Linked DNA regions of Homo sapiens: all the other regions are linked to region 1. The links are contacts of gene promoters, found by promoter capture Hi-C in blood cells and fetal thymus (Javierre and others, 2016). All regions are on one chromosome and are shown on one strand. The core of a region is centred on a gene start or on the middle of the fragment in contact, and the rest is flanking DNA. Distances in the headings are between cores, read along the strand shown.

Region 1 (3,410 bases), core at 585-3,084:
CGAGGGGCGGGGGCGGACGGCGGGGGAGATCCTAGCTGGCGGAGACCGACGGATGGGGCCGCCCTAACCTCAATGAGGCTCACGGGTGAGTCACTGGGAACATTCCTCGCCGCTCGCACGTCCCCGCGCCCCTGCCCCCGCCATTGGCCGGCCGGCTCGGCGGCCCGAGCCCGGATTGGCTGTGCGGCCCGGGGCGGGGGCGTGGGCGAGGAGGGGGCGAGGCATGTGAACAAAGCGTGATCAGCGGCTGCTCCGGGAGGCGCAGGAAACGTGAACTGGGAATTGCCGCGCCGTCACCTTTCCCCTACTTCCTGAGCTTGCGGGCCCCCGCCCGCGCCCGACCCGGGGGAGGGGCCGCGGGCGCCGCCGCCAACCGCCCGGCCGTGCGCGCCGGGCCCGCGGGGAGGGGCGGGGCTGCGGGCGCCAGGCTCCGGGAGGCGCCCGCCCCTTCCAGCTCCCCGCGAGCCGCCGTTCCCTTAGGAACCGACAGCGGGGCCGGGCCTCGCTCCCGCCCCTGGCGGAGGCCGGGGCTGGGTCACTCGGGGACGAGAAGCTCCCCGGGCGCACCCGCTCCCGGCCCACCCCCGGCCTCCGCCTCAGATGCGGGAGGAGGAGCCAGGTCCCCGCGGAAACCCGGCCGCCGCCCTCCTCCCGCCGGCAGCCCCCGGGAACCCGGCCGAGCCCTCGGCACTTCCCGCCCACGCGGCCCACGGGACCTCAGACCACCCCGTCTCTCCCTGTAGACGCGGCGCCCCCTCCCCGTGGCTTCCGGCAGCTCCAGGCCCCTCCCGCCGCGCGTCTCCACGGGTTCCCAGACGTGCAGCCCCCACAGGCCCCGGCTCCAGACGCGCGGCCCCCGCGTCTCGCGGCCCAGCTCCCCCCGCCCACCTTCCCGCCCCAGCTGCTGGGTCCCGCTTCCCACCCTCCTGCCCCAGAGGCGGCTCCCCGCCTCTTCCAAGGAGTCGTCAGAAGGCGGCCACCTGCCCCTGGGGTAAGAGTCCCCCTCCAGACGTCTGGGGGAGCAACTCGTCCCCCAGGGCTGTCGGCGGGCCCTCGTGTCATCCCCCCGCTCCGACGACAGGCGCCCCTTCCCCCAGCCCCGAGCTATCTGCTGAGCAGCCCCCGTCTTCCAAGCGTGGGTTCAGACCCCCAGGATGGGTAGCCCACTCGCCTCTCCTGTGGACACCCCGCCTCCCGAGTGCTTGCGAGCAGCCCCTTCCTCCCCTGGCTCGCGTTCCTGAGCCAGACCGGGCATCTCTCCTCGGTACCAGGTGAGGGTAGCCCCCTTGTCCCTCCCGCGACTCTCGTTCCACACTGTACCCCAACCTCGCTGCAGGGCAACGGCCCCCTCCCCACTCCTCCCCCGCTCGTCATCCTCCTCCTCACCAGCCCTCTCGGGTCTCCATGCGGAGTTGTCCCTTCCCCTCAGTACATCTAGAGCAAGACCCCTGTCCCTGTCTGAAGATCCCAGCCCCCTGGTTCGACCCCCTCCCGAACACACACGCCCTCACTAATGCCCATAGTCTGCAGGCAGGAAGCCCTTTCCTTCCCCACGACTCCGCTGCAGCCCCAATTCTCAGGCATGGCTGATGTCCGGGGCTCGGGGTTCGCGCCCCCTTTGGCCCCCCAGACAAGACCAGGCGAGGAAGCACAGGGGCATCCCCAAATGACTTACCGCAGTCTGCTGGAGAGAGGCACCGAAGTTGAGCATGGTTGGCTGCTTGGCCGCCGGCGGCAAGCTGACTGGCTGCTAGGCTGCTGGCTGCTTGGCCACAGACGGGCGCACGGAGACACTCGACGCCGCTCCCGCCGCCGCCGCGCTCAGCGCCGTCTGCCCCCTCCCCATTCAGGTAGCCGCTCAGCCTGCCCCGCGCCGCGGGCGGGGGTGGGGGCGGAGCCTGAGGCCGGCCAATCAACGGCAAAGGTGTGTGAGGCGCCGGCCAATGGGCTCGCGGGGCCACGCGTGATCGGCGACTGCCCGGCAGCGTGAAGCTGGTGTCAGTGGAGCGTGTACACAATCCCCGGCAGCGTGTTCCCTCTGCCCTGCCCCGGGGAACTCCAGAGGCCACCTGATTGAGTGACGCCCCCCGCCCCTCGCCCACCCCTCGCCCACTCCTTGCCCCTCGTCCCCCGCCCCTGCCTAGAGAGGCGGTGCCGCGGCCGGGGAGGCGCGGCGACTGCAGCGCGCCCAGGCACTGCGGAGGGCCAGCCCCACGTGGGGGGTGGGGAGGGATGCCCGCTCCGCCCCGTCCCCTCCGCGCCGGGCCTCGTCTCAGCCCGCCACGGAGTGGGCGGGACGCCAGGCAGGCGGGGGACGCGGCGGCTGCCAGCCAAGGGGCCGGAGCCAAGAGATTTGCATTGGAAGCGCCATCCTCTTGCGCGTCTGATGAGGAAGCAGAACCCGGTGACCGACTGAGCTGCATTTCTGAAGCATTTGCTGGGTTTTGCCTCACTAAGCCTCGGGGAGCACTGGGGCGCGGGATGGGGGACCCTGTCACGGAGCCGACACCTGCTCGCGCGCCTCTCCCCCGCTCACGCCGTGCCGCGGGCTCGCCCTCCCCATCTGCAGCGCCCGCAGCGCCTGCCCGCCCCGCCCATCCTTCCTCCTGGGCAACCCAGAGGATGGCGTGAGGACTCCTGGAAGCCCAGAGGACCGGACCAGGGGCGTGGTGGGGAGCCGTAGACCCGAGTTTTTATCCTTCTCTGGCGCCGACACTCGGCTGCGGAATCGAGTTTGAGCTCGGTGTAGCTGAAGTTTAAATTGTAGCTGTTTCAAAGGTAGACCCCACCTCACCCCCACCCCTGGACCAAGACCTCTGGAAGCGTCCTGCCTGGAAGCCGCTTGTGGGGAGGGCTCTCCTAGGGTCTCCAGGCTCCCGCTGGAGCACGCCTGGAGGTGGGTTTGCCGGCCGTTCCCTGAAACTGGCACCACTACCGCCCCACCCACCCACTCCAGCTGGTGGGAGGCAGGCTGGGTTTCTGAAAGGAAGCCGCCCGTGTGCTGCGCCTGGGGGCTGGGGCTAGGCCTTCTGATCAGGAAAGCCCATGGCCCTGCTTTGGCACGGATTTGCCCCCGTTTGGCCGTTTGTGCGTGATCACAGCAGCTGTTGTTGGAGAGGAAGGCAGTGATAACGGGGCTTAAAGCAAATCGGAGATCTTATCCGATTTGGACAGGCTGAATTTAAGGCAAAAATCACTGTCTCTCCTTCGAGCACTCACGTCTCTGTAACTGAATGAAAGGCTGGTAATGCAAATAGCATTTCTATCCCAGTAATCACAGAATGAACACAGGAAGGGAATTAATTCTTTTAGAAACTGCCAATGCTATGCGTATCTTCCGATGGTTTTTTTCTAATGTATCTAAGGCCCAGGCTAGCGAACAACAGCAATAATAATGATAGTAATACTGT
Region 2 (3,410 bases), core at 458-2,957, 1.7 Mb before region 1:
GGAGTATTTAAAATTTTTCCCATCAAAATAAACAGACTCAAAATTATACCTGTGGTAAATGAGTTTTTTAAACCTGAAACCTAACTGCCTGTGAAAGACTGTTCACATGAGGAATTAAAATGCAGCCTCACAAAAGGATAGTCAAAAAAGGGAAAAAAATTTAGCATACTCAGCATCAGAGGTAAACTTACAGCCATTAACACATCAGTGTAGCAAAACTTAAAATTTGTTCAGAAGACCCAAATTTCACATGTCAAAATTACTTCCAAAAGCTGCCTCAAAAACTACCCCTAATCTTACCTGATCAAAATCTCAACTCATTTCCAATACCACTAAGTGATCCAAAATTAAGCAGCTTTTCTTCCTTTAGTAAAAGCATTGTTTACAGAGAACATCTGGATTTCTATCATATTTCCAGAATCATAATTCATATCAGTTTAATGTAACTCACGTCTTTTTACTTTCATAATACTCTTGTCAAGAGTGATTACATTTTAGCTTTAGTGTTACCCCTACCCCAAACCTACTAGATCTCTGCAACAACTGCCAGCCAATAATAGCATAACAATTTGGGGGGGAATGACCAACTGTTTGTTTTCAGATATTTTGAGTATAAATCCACCACAAAGGATCAATATCTGACCCTAATGTCTCAACTCTTTATCTTGTTATATGTCCACATGCTTTAAAAATATCCGCAAGTCATGACACTTCAACTCTTACTGTGAGTACTAGAATATATCACATTGGAAGTACTTAATTTATAAGTGTTTCCAATGTCATCGCTCCAGTTGAAATGCAGAAGTGCTGCATTTTGCTTCTAGCCATCATAATGTAATTGGATGTTACCACTCAAGCTGTCCTTTACCATGACTACCCATCTAATTCTCTTTCCCTCGCATTTTAGTTTCCTGGACCTTTTCGATTTACCTCAGCTACATTTTTCTGGAAAGATACCCTTTTGCAAGTTGCCGAACAGCACAAAGATACTAATCCACACAGTGACACCACAGAATAAATGACTTCAGAGGAAAATACACACCCTGAATGAAGTGCACTTTTAAGTTAGAAGGTGAACAGAAGAGTCCACCTTGGCAGCTGGCTCCCGAATATTAATCATCTTTTACCTTCCCAGGGAAATCCCACAATATTTTTTTAACCAAATGAGAGAACAGGTCGCCACATTTTAAACAAATAATTAACCACTTTGGATGCAAGGTACTGGCTCAATACGTAAACTATTTAACCTTTATGACGGCATTATTTTCGTCAGGTCTCTAAATTACTGATTTTTCCCTTAGGATCTCAGAAACGCTCTCTGGTTATTTCTGCTTCTAACAAAAAATGATTTAAGCCAGTACAAAGGATTCTCTCCCCAATCACTTCGGTACAAGAGGAAGTGGATAAGGTTTCTCACACAGTAACGAGTGCTCCAAGGCCTCGCCTCTACACTGCGGGCAGGACTCACCGCACCCATTTAACCCTTACCTGACTTGAGACGTCGGTTACTGTGAAACGAAAACGGGCAGACCCGGACTTTAAAGTGCAAATTCTCCGGTCCGCGTATCGCAACCACCCCCCTCCAGGCTCCGCCCAAGTCGGAGCCACGGCTCAAGTCCCCGACTCTCCTCCTTTGTCATGGCGGATCTGTGTCAGGGAGCCCAACCTACTGCAGAGTGTTAATTCCTCCCCCCGACCGGAGCCAGAGGGAGGAGCAGCCCGCGCCCCCGCCCAAGCCGTGGGGGGGGGGGAGAGATGGGGAGCGAAGCCGCCCGACCCCGGGGCAGAGACGCCACAGCAGCCCGCAGAAGCGGAACCACTACCAGCCCCGCCGCGGACACACCCCGCTCTCCCACCCAGCGCCTTCCCCGCCACCGATCAGCGCCGGTGACCGTGTACAGCGTCTCTAAGGGACCGACAGCTGCAGGTGGGGGAGGGGACGAGAGCCACACCCAGCCGAGCGGGCCACCAGCGGCTATGCTCAGGCTCACCCGCCCCCAAAGCAGGATATGCGTCCCCAAACCGAGCGCAGGGACCCTCCAGTTCTAGTCCATCAAGCACGGGAGCCGACTGCGGGCTCACCACCCTGTTCTCTACCCCGACCTGGACTTGCAGCCCCCGTCCACACCTCCCCCGCCCGTTCACAAGGAGCAAAAAAAGTCAGACCCATCCCCCACCCCCACCAGGAAAATTCAAGTCCTTCCTCCCACCGCGGAGCCCAGGAAATTCAGCTCTAGGTCCCAGGCGAGCCCCACCCCAAAACCTCACCCCGCAGTGGACTCCCCTCCCGCCGGCGCGCAGCCTCGCCCCGGTCTACCTGGCGGGCGCCGCCGCGCCAGGCCTGGGCTCCGGCCCGCTCTCGGCCAGGCCTTTCCCTCGCGCTTGGGTCCCCGAGGCCCCCGGCCCCTCCCCGCCGCGCCACCGCCTCCCGGGGTGGGGGAGGGCCGGGTCCCGCCGCCGCAGCGCCCAGCGCGGAGGCTGCGCGAGGGGGAGGGAAAGGAGGGGGCGGCCGAGGGAGAGGGGAGGGGGCGGCCTCACCTGCGCCACTGCGATGCCCGCCGCCGCCGCCGCCGAGTCATTATCTCGGGCGGAAGCGAGAAGGGCGGCGAGGGAGGGGGTGGAAGCCCGCAGAGACAAGGGTGGGGATGGATCGCGGCCGGCGGCGCCCCGGCCATGCCTCGTCCACCTTCGGGAGCCGGCGACAGGGAGATCCCCAGGGATCTCGCGTGTGGGCGCCCTACCCACCCCCGGGGGCAGGACGGGGGAGCGAGCACCGATCGGCGCCGGGGCGTCGATGCGGAAGCAAGGAGCCGGAGGCGGCCGCTAGCCGCCCTCCCGAGCCCAGCGGAAGAGGAGCCGCCGCCCGTGTCCGCTGAGGAGACTCCGCCTCAGCCCGGCGCCGCCACCGCGGGGCGAGTGGGGATGAGGGGACGGAGCGAGGACGGCTCCCACGCGTTCGGAAGGCTGGCCTGGGACAGGAAGCGAGGCGCGGCGGCGGCCGGGTTCCTCACCTGTGTCCGGAGTGGGTGGTGGCGGCGGACGGACGGGCTCAGCAGTCTCTGGGCGGCGGCGGCGGCAGCAGCGGCGAGGCTGAGACTCTGTCCCTGGATCTCGCTGCTCACAGGCTACAGCCGCTCCGCAGACACGGGGTTTCCTCCAATCACCAGCCCCGGCAGCAGGGGCACCACACGCACGATGACGTCAAACGCTGCTATGGCAACCGTTGATTGGTGCCCACAGCGATCGGGGCCCCGCGTAACCGCCGCTCCCCGGCGCTCGTCCTGCCCGCCCGCGCTGGAGGGCGAGCGGAGGCGCGCGCGTCCTCGCCCGCAGCCGCCACTCCTCCCACCCCGCTCGGCTTCCAGCTCCTCTACGCTTGTCCCGAGTGCACCTAGGGCAGGAGGCTGCTT
Region 3 (3,410 bases), core at 525-3,024, 1.5 Mb before region 1:
CATGGAAACAGGTTTGGATACTTATGTATTATTTGGACGACAGTAGTCACGTGATCAGCCTTTATGTATACCAATGTTTTGCAAGGTTTTTTGTCTCAATGTCTTACTATCAGGACCTTGTAACAAAATAGCCAGTCTTCTCACACATCTTAACTCTTCGACACAATGTATTTTATGTATCTTAATACACTGATTTTGTGGGAAATCTTGTTTTATGTTAAAAAAAATCTTCAAAAATGGTAAGCCACTAATTTCAGAAGTTCCTTTGCTTTCTAGAAGTTACTAGCTATTTTGATATTTCCATGTTGTGACTCGTACAAAGCAATGTCATTAGACACACAAAATTATTTTTAACTTTTGCACTTAGGACTTTCCCTAAAATATAACATTACACAATAGATTCAACCCATTTTCCATTGTCACCAAACAGCAACCAAAAAGACCGAAGAGACTTAATAAAGACAGTAGTCACTTGTTCTTATTCTGAAGACAGAAAACTTAACACCAGGTAAAGGAAATGGAATAAAATAAGCTAAATGCATGAGGTAGGCCCCTAACTTCTGACAACACGCCCCATCGATTTCCTTTCTGAAAGCAGAAATTCAAACGAACCAACCACCTGCTTTTGGACAGCTCAACTTAGGACTTGCTCTCAAGCCAACACAATTTTCTACAAAATCGTAGGCAGCTACAACCGCTCCTTGATTAAATGCGACAAACTGGAGGGAAAAAGTCACTTACAAATACCTACATGCTGGTTTTTAATGCAACTCTCAGTGTGGTTTTCCGAGGGGGCTGCAAAGAGGGAAGTAGTGGAAGAAACGAGTTCTAAAATGAGGCGCTCTCGTAGGAGGCAACAAGTAAGCTCTGCCCCAAAGCTCCTTTTAAAACCAACATAAATGAGTAACAGAAGAAAAGGATTTTGGGTCCAGGAAGTAGGCTCATTCTCCATAACCATCGGAAAGGAAGAGGCCCAGGCAGCGCTCCACATCCTGACCCTAGCTTTTAACACCATCGTTTTGGGGAGAGGAGAGGAGGAACGCACCCACAGTGAGGTCTCCACCCAACACTTCTCCGACCCCAGCTTCAGCCTGGCGCACCTTCCTTCCCAAACCCGCCTCTCCCGCCTCGGAGACCCCCTCCTCCTCCCTGCCACCAAAGGCCACGCAGCCCCCATCTAGCCAGTCCTCACGGACCCTGGACCAAGACGCGCCTCCTGGAGGCCGAGACTGCCCGAAACCCGGCCCCTGCGTCCACCGGGAGCGCCACACTCTGGCAGCTGACCGGCGGCTGTCGCCGGGGGTAAGGTTACCGCTCCGCTTCCGCGGCTGGCCTGCGACCCGGCCACCTGCAGGGCCTGGCAGGCGCCCGAACTCATCCCCTTCCCGCGGCCCGCCCCGGGCCGGGCCCTGCCGCCCCCCGCGACCCCTCGCGACCCGCGGCGAGTCCCACGGTCCCCACCGCCCCCCGCTGGCCGGCCCCCGCCCCGTTTCCCGGGCGTCCCGCGGCGTCAGCACCGCCCCCGCTGCCGCTCACCCGGGCCGGGACAGTCTTGCGTCGGAGAGACAGTGCAGCGCGAGAGGGCCGGGAGAGGACGCCGGAGGGAAAGGAAGGGGGAGCGCGCCCAGCACCGCTTGGGCCTCCTCCACCCGCTCAGGAGGGGAAACACGAGAGCCGGGAGCACAACAGCCTCGCACGCCCGCCGCCGCCGCGCGCCCGCCGCCGCCTCAGCCTTAGGGGAGACCACTACGCCTCGTGCCCGCGCACGCCGCGCCGCTCTCCTCGGCGCCCCCGCCCCGCCTGCTCCTCGCAGCCCCGCCCATGTGCCTTTCTGCGGCTGCCTCCTTCTGGCCCCCACCCCGCTCGCACGCCTGCGCCCTGGCTGGTCGCGCGGGCCAATGGCAGCGCGCCCCTATTACATAAGCGCGAGGGGGCGGGCCCTGGCTGACACAAACTTCAGGGGACGTCGCCTTCTGTCCCCAGGCGCCCCTCCTCTCCGGCGCGCTCGGTCCGGGCGGCTTCTTCACCCAGCCCTGGGAGCCACGTGATCCCGGTCCTGGTTGGTGACCGGGCCGCGGCGTGTTTCACAAGTCGCTCGCTCGCTCATCCACTCGGGCGGCGGCCGGGCCTCAGGCGCTGCGACCCTTTTCCCGCTCCTCCCAGGCTGACGCGCCCGTCTCGGCGCCGCCCTCCTCGGCACCGACTGAGGCGCTGGCCCGGGAGCGGATCGCGGGGCCGCGGTGGCTGAGTCACATTCCCGGAGCCCCGCCACCCAGGACACCGCGGCCCCGGCCCCCAGCGAGCCCGGCGGACCCAGCGGCTCTGAACGCGGACGCACAGCCTTTGTTCTTTCACAGCCGCCCTTTACCTCACTCCCATGGAAACCCCAGGTGTTTTCCCAAGCTGGGGGCTTTTAGTGAGTTCAAGATTCAAGCCTAAGTCGTATTAAAAATTGCTGGCTAGGCCGGGCGCGGTGGCTCACGCCTGTAATCTCAGCGCTTTGGGAGCCCAAGGCAGGAGGATCACTTGAGCCCAGGAGTTCCAGACCAGCCTGAGTACATAGCGAGACCCACGTCTCCACAAAAATAAAATAAAATAAAATAAATAGTGGAGCATGGTGGCCCGCGCCTGTAGTCCCAGCTACTCGGGAGGCTGAGGTGGGAGAATCGCTTGAGGCCGGGAGGTGAAGGTTGCGGTAAGCCGAGATCGCGCCATTGCACTCCATCCTGGGCGACTGAGTGAGACCCTGCCTAAAAAAAAAAAAAAACAAAAAAAGAAAAAAAAATTGCTGGCCAGGCTTCCCGGAGGGGTTTAGTTTGACTGCTAACAATATACGGTACTGAGTTGCTAATCCTTCGGGGAATGGTTAAAGTTCTTTGCGCGCGCTCTCTCTCCATTTACAGGCAGTGGCAGCAAACTTTCAATATCTGACAAGAGCAATGGCGATTATAACCATGATTAAAATTGCTGAATATCTGGAAACAGTACTTTAGACATCAGCTTTATTGTGCATACTTACCCCCGACCCCCGCCACATTCGTTTCTAATTAGAACTACTAGTGACAAAGGAGAAAAAAAAAAAGTGTTTGCATTGGCTGTTCTCACCTTGCCTGTAGTGCCGTTTCCCAAGTTTGCGTGGCAGTGCCCAGGAAATGTTGGCTGAATATTAGTATATCCCAAATGACTTGGACTGGGCTATAGATACCACAGAATTGTTTAAACTAGCCAGGAAGGAGTTAGCTGCCTATTGCATTTGAGTGGAGAAAAATACGAAATGAAACATGGCATGCAGTGATCCGGGTGTTCAGTTCTCCCTCTTCATCCTCATTTCAGCTTCTCTCACCTTCACTTTTTATGCTCTGACTTCCTTCTTGCAGTTTTAAATTACTCTCTAGTCCTAGATTGTAAGA
Region 4 (3,410 bases), core at 287-2,786, 1.3 Mb before region 1:
CACCGTCTCCACCCCATCCATGGAAGCAGTGTGGTGTGATAGTTAAAGGCCAGCTTTGCCTATAAAGAGCCAGATAGTAAATATTTTAGGCTTTGTGGGCCATATGGTCTCTCTGTCCTTATAGCACAAAGACAGCCATAGATAATATGAACAGGTATAGCTATATTCCAGTAAAGTTGTGTTTATAAAAACAGGTAGTGCAATGGAGTTGGTCCATGGGCCATACTTTGCAGACTGCTGCTTAAAAGTGCCGCTCTGGAACCGAACTACCTGGGTTTAAATCCCAGCTCTGTTGCTTTGTGACTTAGAGTTACTCAATCTCTCCATAATTCAGTTTCTTCATTTGTACATTGGGGGTGAAATGAAGTAAAGTATATAAAGCACTTGGGACTTCACCTGGTAGATAGATAATAATAAGCTCTGAATGTGTGTGTGTGTGTACACGTGTATGTGATTATAAATATTTTATATGTATATATATGAGATACATATTTTTCTTTTCTTTTTTTTTTTTTTTTTTGAGACACAGTCTCACTCTGTCGTCCAGTGCAGTGGCATGATCTCGGCTCACTGCAACCTCCGCCTCCTGGGTTCAAGCAATTCTCTTGCCTCAGCCTCCCGAGTAGCTGGGACTACAGGCGTATGCCACCATGCCCTGCTAATTTTTGTATTTTTAGTAGAGATGGGGTTTCACCATGTTGTCCAGGCTGGTCTCGAACCCCTGACCTCAGGTGATCCACCCACCTCGACTTCCCAAAGTGCTGGGATTACAAGCATGAGCCACCAAGCCTGGCCTATATACTTCACATATATATATATACACACACACATGAAATAAGCTAAGTTAACTTATTGAGCAACTATCTCTCTGTCAGGCATTCCAGTAATAATCGTTTACTGGACAAAGCCTAATTGTTACTGGAATTTCTAATGGACAGTAGTGCTCACTAAATATTGCCTAAGTGGTGAACAGATAAATGCACTCTTCTCATTTACATTTTACTCATCCTTCAAGTTCAAGGTTGAGTTCTCTTCCTTTAGGCGTCCTCCTTGGCAGCCCAGGCTCAGCCCATCTCTTCCTCTCTCCCTTCATGGCAGTTCACTGGGCATCACACTTGGCAGCCTTTGGTTCTCCAGAGCACTTTCCACCATCCCGCTTGTCACCACCTTCTTTCCGTGTTGATGTTGTTCACGGACTGTCTCCCTCAGTAGAATGTGAGCTCCTTACCATGGTTTGTCCAGTACCTAGGACAGTGCCTGTCAGGTGCTCAGTAATTGTTTATTGATTAATGAATGAATGAATGAACGAATGAATGAATCCTTTCTATTATTGCAACCTGTTGTTTTCATCATTTAACCTTTCTCTGTGTATGCTTTATCTCCCAAACTACAGACTAAGTTTTTTTAAAGTTACCTCTCTGATCAGCATTTCAGGATTACTATGAAGATCAAATTAAATTACATGTGGCAGTGTCTAGCTTGGAGTTTGGTGTATATTGATGTCAATTGCATATTCCTAATTCATACTTTCTTCTCTCCGTTTCATAAATATTTGTTTTCCAGGTATCACAGAAAGAATTGAAAGGCAAGGTTGTCAGACAGATATGGCAGCTAAGACACCAACTGAGGAATGTTATCAATGTAGCTCCGTGAAATTGCCATATTTTACATCCTGCAGTTCTGCAGTCAAGTGGTGGTATTTTTGTCACAGCCCACATCAAAGCCCAGATGGCATGAGGGAGGGATGGAAATGGGGCTCCATAACCCTCAGGAACTCTGAAGATTTCATCTCCTAAGTGGTATTGTCCATCTGTTTCTGCAACTTCCTTAGCAACTTGACAAGTAAATCCTTAAATAGTAACTGCCAGCAGTATTGCAGTTCTTTGTCTTTCTGACTAGGTATGAAAGCCAAGAAGGCAGCCCTTTGTAAATGGTGTCACTGTTTGAGATGTTTGCGGGCTGCTTGCTCTTCTAGATCCACATGGCCTTTCAGTTTGTCTCCACGGGAGGTCTATGCTTGGTCATGATCAGCTGACACTCATAAATCCTGTGTCTGGACATCTGTCACTCCTGCCAGTCCAGCATCCCTTTCTTGAAGTAGCAGCTACCTGATTTTCCTTGGGACCCCTCTGAGTCTCAGATTCAGAAGGCTAGGGTGGGCTCGGCACAGTAGCTCACGCTTGTAATCCTAGCACTTTGGGGAGGCCAAGGCTGGCAGATCACCAGGTCAGGAGTTCAAAACCAGCCTGGCCAACATGGTGAAACCCTGTCTCACCTAAAAGTACAAAAAAAATTAGCCGGGTGTGGTGATGGGCACCTGTAATCCCAGCTACTCAGAAGGCTGAGGCAGGAGAATTGCTTGAACCCAGGAGGTGGAGGTTGCAGTGAGCCAAGATCGTGCCATTGCACCCCAGCCTGGGCAACAGAGTGAGACTCTGTCTCAAAAAAAAAAAAAAAAAAAGAAGGCTAGGGTGAAGAAGGTGCCCTTTGGATAATTATTTATTTAGGGAACTATCCTGAGAAGTATGTCTCCTTTTAAAAGAAATATGTGAAAATAATGTTTGTTCTCACAACTTCGATCTCCTGGATAGTTCTGTCTCTGAAGAGATTTTTTTATTGTTGTTGTTTTTCTTAAAAACAGAGAAACATTTTGTTAGACATTGTAGTTTGATTGAAAGTCGGCTGGCCAGGCCTGCAGAGATGATGAGTATGTTCAGACATCGAATAGATTTCTTGTCTTAGATGATGTTTTTCAAATCAGAGCTTTGTGGTTTTACTTTATGATTTTTTTCAGATGACTCTGGTTACGGTCACCACCAGAGTGCTCAGTGCTGTTTACTATTCAACTCCGCAGGAGCCAGAATCCAGACGCTGGGAAATGTGAATGTTCCAATATGGCTGACCATCATGGAATGGGATCAACAGATGGAAATAGGAGGCTTCATCTTCTTCATCTTGGTCCTGAGGCTCCATCAGCCAGGTTTCCAGCACACATTAAACCCAGGTATAACAACGACATGGCCCAGATTTTTCAATCTTCATTTCAAAAGTGTCCCTTTGTCTCCCTCTATATCTGGTTGGTCAGCTGTCTTGATTTTTGCGTTGGGATCCAAAGTTACTACAAAACTAGCGCAATTGGTTTAATATCTTCATTAACTGAATTCTTGGGTCCTCTGCCCATCTCCTTTCTCCTTCATAAGTTCCTCTTGTTCTTCCTGCCTCTGGAATATGGGTCTTGGCTTTCAGCCATTCCCATGGCAAATTAACCCTTCAATCTTAATGACCACTGTAGTGGACAATGTTAGTGCTTTTTTTTTTTTTTTCTTTGAGACAGTATTTAGCTCTTGTTGCCCAGGCTGGAGTGCAATGGTTGCTCACTGCAACCTCTGCCTCCCGGGTTCAAGTGATTC
Region 5 (3,410 bases), core at 515-3,014, 1.3 Mb before region 1:
GCATGGCTACAGCACTAAGCCGCTCTTAGTGCCGCTTCCACCGATGCCTGGACACTGCCACCAGGTGCTTGTCACAGGGTTCAAAGCCACTTAATGGAAAGGTAGCTTCTTAAAATGACAATGGATATTATAGTACATCTCTAGATCCAATAATTTCAGCTATTAAAATCCCATTCATAAAGTGAAGCCTGGGAGAAAATAAAAGCATTTAATAGAGATGCAGTCACGTAACTTATGTGTGAGAGAGACACTGAGCTTCTTTCTGTTCAATCCCACCAGCAAGGACCTTGCTGAGGCCCCACATTACAGAGTGGCCCACACTGGCAGTGTCCAGCAGAGGCTCGGCAAAGCCAGTGTCACAAGATCGAGCCCAGGCTCATGACAGCACTGACCTCAGGACCGGACCTCCCAGCCCAGGTGGCACCTGAAAGCCTGGGTCTGATCAGATTTCTTTCTGTGAAATCTTCAGTTTTAGTACCTTGTGGCTTTGATGACAGCTCAATGTTCTCATGCTGGGCTGCAGAGTAGAACGCTGCTGTAACAAAGTACCACAAACAAGGTGCTTAAAACCACAAATTTATTCTATCCCAGTTCTAGAGGCCAGGAGTCTGAAATCAAGATGTCGGCAGGGTCATGCTACCCCTGAAGGCTCTAGGGCAGAACTTTTCTTTGCCTTTTCTGGCTTCTGGGGCCTCCAGCCTTCCTTGTCTCGTGGCTACATCACTGTAATCTCTGCCTCTGTCTTCACACAGCCTCCTCCTCTTCTGTGTCTATGCCTTCTCCTCTTCTGTGTTTTGATAGGATTATGGGCCCACCCAGGTAATTCAGGATAATCTCATCTCAAGATCCTTAATAATATCCGCAAAGATCCTTTTTCCAAATAAGGTCACATGTGCAGATTCCAGGCCATGGACATATCTTTTAGGGGCCACCATTCAACTCACTTCGTATTCCACTGAATGTGGAGGATGGCTCTAAAGCCCCCGGTTTTGAATAATTTCCCTAGGCTCATGTAGTGAGCTATTCCAGGGGTCTACTCACCCTGGCCCTGTCCTGCCTCCCTCCTTCCCACTCCCCTGACCACTCAGGTCATTTTCATGCATGCTGAGCACTGACTGAGGAGATCTTCAGCATCTCGAGGCCTGCCCACGGGGGTGCTCTGCTGCCCACCCCATGCCAATTTTCCCAGACCAGTGGACTGTGAGTCCCCAGGAGTACCTGGCCCCCTCAATCTGCTCTCTATGAACCCGTCTGAGGCCTGAGGGCTCTGCCTTGGAAGTCAACCTCACACCATGAGGATCCAACTGCAGCCTCACTGGGGCTCTGAGATTCAACCAGCTCCACCAGTTTCAGTCCTTTTGAAAGTTCTTGACACCTAAGGTATACCCCTCACACATGTGCGTATACACACACACACTCACATACACATGCCCCTCAGTGCCTCTCCAGGTGGACAGCAGCACCCTTTGCCCTACAGGTATTCTGAAAAGATTACATTAGATTGAACTTTTAGAACTTAGCTCCTATTTTCCTATGAAGTTTCAATAGGTTAGAGATGACCTACTTTTCTTTTTTCATTACTTTCCTCATAATTTAAATGTTTTTGTGCAACCCTAAGCTGCAATTTGTAAATATTAAAGTGACCAACTACGATTAAAGGAAGCCTTATTAGAGAGTCAAGCGATTACTGGACCCCTTGCTTATTTATCTGTTTTACAGTATTGCCTATGAGCAGGGTTGCCTGCCTTCTAAGTATAAAAGAATGCTGGTTTTATTTTATCACGAGTAGTACACAGCGTCTAGAGGAAGCCAGTAAATACCCATATTTTGAATTTTCATTTTTAGCTAAGTTGCTATGGAAACTCCTCCTCTCCCCATTGCCCCCTCCTGGCTCCATCCCTCCCCTCGCCTGGGGTCCCCAAAGCACATCAGGTATGGGGAGCACTGAAACCCCAGCACTACCACTAGGGCTCTGTGACCTTGGACCAGACACACAGGACCAACTAACCCCTCAGGCACAGGAGGAACCATGCCTAGGGCCCACCATACTCTTAGAAGCCCATAAAAATGTTATTTTTTTAATTACAAAATATATATATATATAACTTTATGTCGAAGAAAATGTTTTAATACATATCAATGTATTTGTCTTTATACGAATGCAGTCATAAAATAGAATATTGTTAATATTTTTGATGGAGGAAGGGGCCCAGGAAGATCAGAATGCACGTAGACACACCTTCTTTCTGAGCCTGGTTCCTCAGGGGGATGATGAGTGTGATTGTTTTTAGTCCCTGAGGCTGTTGTAAGGATCCAAGGAGCAAAAAATTGGATGCACAGTAGGTGTTCAATAAATGCTGCTTCTCTCATATCCTCTGTCCCTTTCTGAGCTCCAAAGAGACACTCTCAGGCCCCACCCTATGAGTTAGGCATTCTTTCCATTTAAGGGATGAAGAAGCTGAGGCTGTGAGAGAGAAAGGCCAGATTCATCCCTCTGTATTCTACCCTGTCAGACATGGAGGCCGTTACATAAGAAATATTTTTGACTGGGCACAGTGGCTCATGCCTGTAATCCCAACACTTTGGGAGGCCAAGGTGGGTGGATCACCTGAGGTCAGGAGGGTGAGACCAGCCTGGCCAACATGGGGAAACCCTGTTTCTACTAAAAATACAAAAATTAGCCAGGCTTGGTGGTGGATGCCTGTAATCCCAGCTACCCGGAAGGCTGAGGCAGGAGAGTCGCTTGAACCCAAGAGGTGGAGGTTGCAGTGAACCCAGATCGCGCCATTGCACTGCAGCCTGGGCAACAAGAGCGAAACTCTGTCCTCCACCAAAACAAAACAAAAGAAAGAAAGAAAGAAAGGAAAGAAATAATTTCAGGCTTGAGGATTGCCTGAGCATGGAAGGTCAAGGTTGCAGTGAGTCGTGAACATGCATTGTGCTCTAGCCTGGGTGAGAGAGTGAGACCCTGGAAGGAAGGAAGGAAGGAAGGAAGGAAGGAAGGAAGGAAAGAAAGGAAGGGAGGGAAAGAAAGAGAAAGAAAGGAAAGAAAAGAAGAAAGAAAAAGAAAAGAAAGAAAGAAAGAAAAAGAAAGAAAGGGAAAGAAAGGAAGGAGAAAAGAAATATTCTGTACCCCTTCCTCCCCCATTTTACTAGGCTGAAACAAAATTAATGAATAATAACCTAACTATATGCCTAATTTCAAAAAATCAACACAATGCCTTAGAGAAGAAATAAAAAGATAGTAACTTACCGTAAAATAATACGTATTTCAGTAGACAGAGGTGGAGGCCCGATTTTGCTAGAAGCCAACAGGAAGTAGGCAAACACTTGGCCTCCTACATGGAACCCCACAAATGGAGCTGCTGCACATGTTAACCTCAAGTTTCTCTGACATAGTGAACAACTCC

Evidence for each region. Contacts are between HindIII fragments. The CHiCAGO score rates a contact against its expected background, and 5 or more counts as called.
Region 2: a contact is called between a fragment that was not itself captured here and the fragment with the promoter of KLF10 in region 1, in 1 of 17 cell types (naive CD4 T cells). The highest score is 5.3, in naive CD4 T cells.
Region 3: the fragment with the promoter of ZNF706 here is called in contact with the fragment with the promoter of KLF10 in region 1 in 10 of 17 cell types (fetal thymus, naive CD4 T cells, total CD8 T cells and 7 more); the score reaches 13.9 in fetal thymus.
Region 4: a contact is called between a fragment that was not itself captured here and the fragment with the promoter of KLF10 in region 1, in 1 of 17 cell types (total B cells). The highest score is 5.2, in total B cells.
Region 5: a fragment that was not itself captured here is called in contact with the fragment with the promoter of KLF10 in region 1 in 10 of 17 cell types (total B cells, naive CD4 T cells, naive B cells and 7 more); the score reaches 22.3 in total B cells.

What each region holds. Positions count from the first base shown.
Region 1 is chr8:102,653,891-102,657,300 of GRCh38, forward strand. It overlaps KLF10 (KLF transcription factor 10), which reads right to left and starts at 1,835. Exons shown (of 4, transcript NM_005655.4): 1 at 1,676-1,835. The coding sequence starts at 1,711. It overlaps LOC101927245 (a long non-coding RNA gene), which reads left to right and starts at 2,358. Exons shown (of 5, transcript NR_160672.1): 1 at 2,358-2,896. RefSeq lists silencers at 1-804, 1,705-2,724, enhancers at 1-571, 1,865-2,465, 3,066-3,410 and a promoter at 1,691-2,425. The HindIII fragment of the contact is 6,240 bases long and covers 1-3,410 here.
Region 2 is chr8:100,948,918-100,952,327 of GRCh38, forward strand. It overlaps YWHAZ (tyrosine 3-monooxygenase/tryptophan 5-monooxygenase activation protein zeta), which reads right to left and starts at 3,103. Exons shown (of 6, transcript NM_145690.3): 1 at 3,012-3,103. RefSeq lists enhancers at 1,308-1,367, 1,482-2,341, 1,968-2,047, 3,200-3,410 and silencers at 1,628-1,847, 2,238-3,007, 3,238-3,410. The HindIII fragment of the contact is 5,201 bases long and covers 1-3,410 here.
Region 3 is chr8:101,203,899-101,207,308 of GRCh38, forward strand. It overlaps ZNF706 (zinc finger protein 706), which reads right to left and starts at 1,775. Exons shown (of 4, transcript NM_016096.5): 1 at 1,537-1,775. RefSeq lists silencers at 1,310-1,909, 2,120-2,339. The HindIII fragment of the contact is 4,829 bases long and covers 1-3,410 here.
Region 4 is chr8:101,312,513-101,315,922 of GRCh38, forward strand. LOC124901993 reads left to right here. Exons shown (of 6, transcript XM_047422526.1): 2 at 1,564-1,799; 3 at 2,855-3,004. The coding sequence starts at 2,895. Among named protein-coding and RNA genes, the nearest start is that of LINC02844, 51 kb to the left of the region's middle. The HindIII fragment of the contact is 6,164 bases long and covers 1-3,410 here.
Region 5 is chr8:101,328,702-101,332,111 of GRCh38, forward strand. No RefSeq gene overlaps it. Among named protein-coding and RNA genes, the nearest start is that of LINC02845, 63 kb to the right of the region's middle. The HindIII fragment of the contact is 5,713 bases long and covers 1-3,410 here.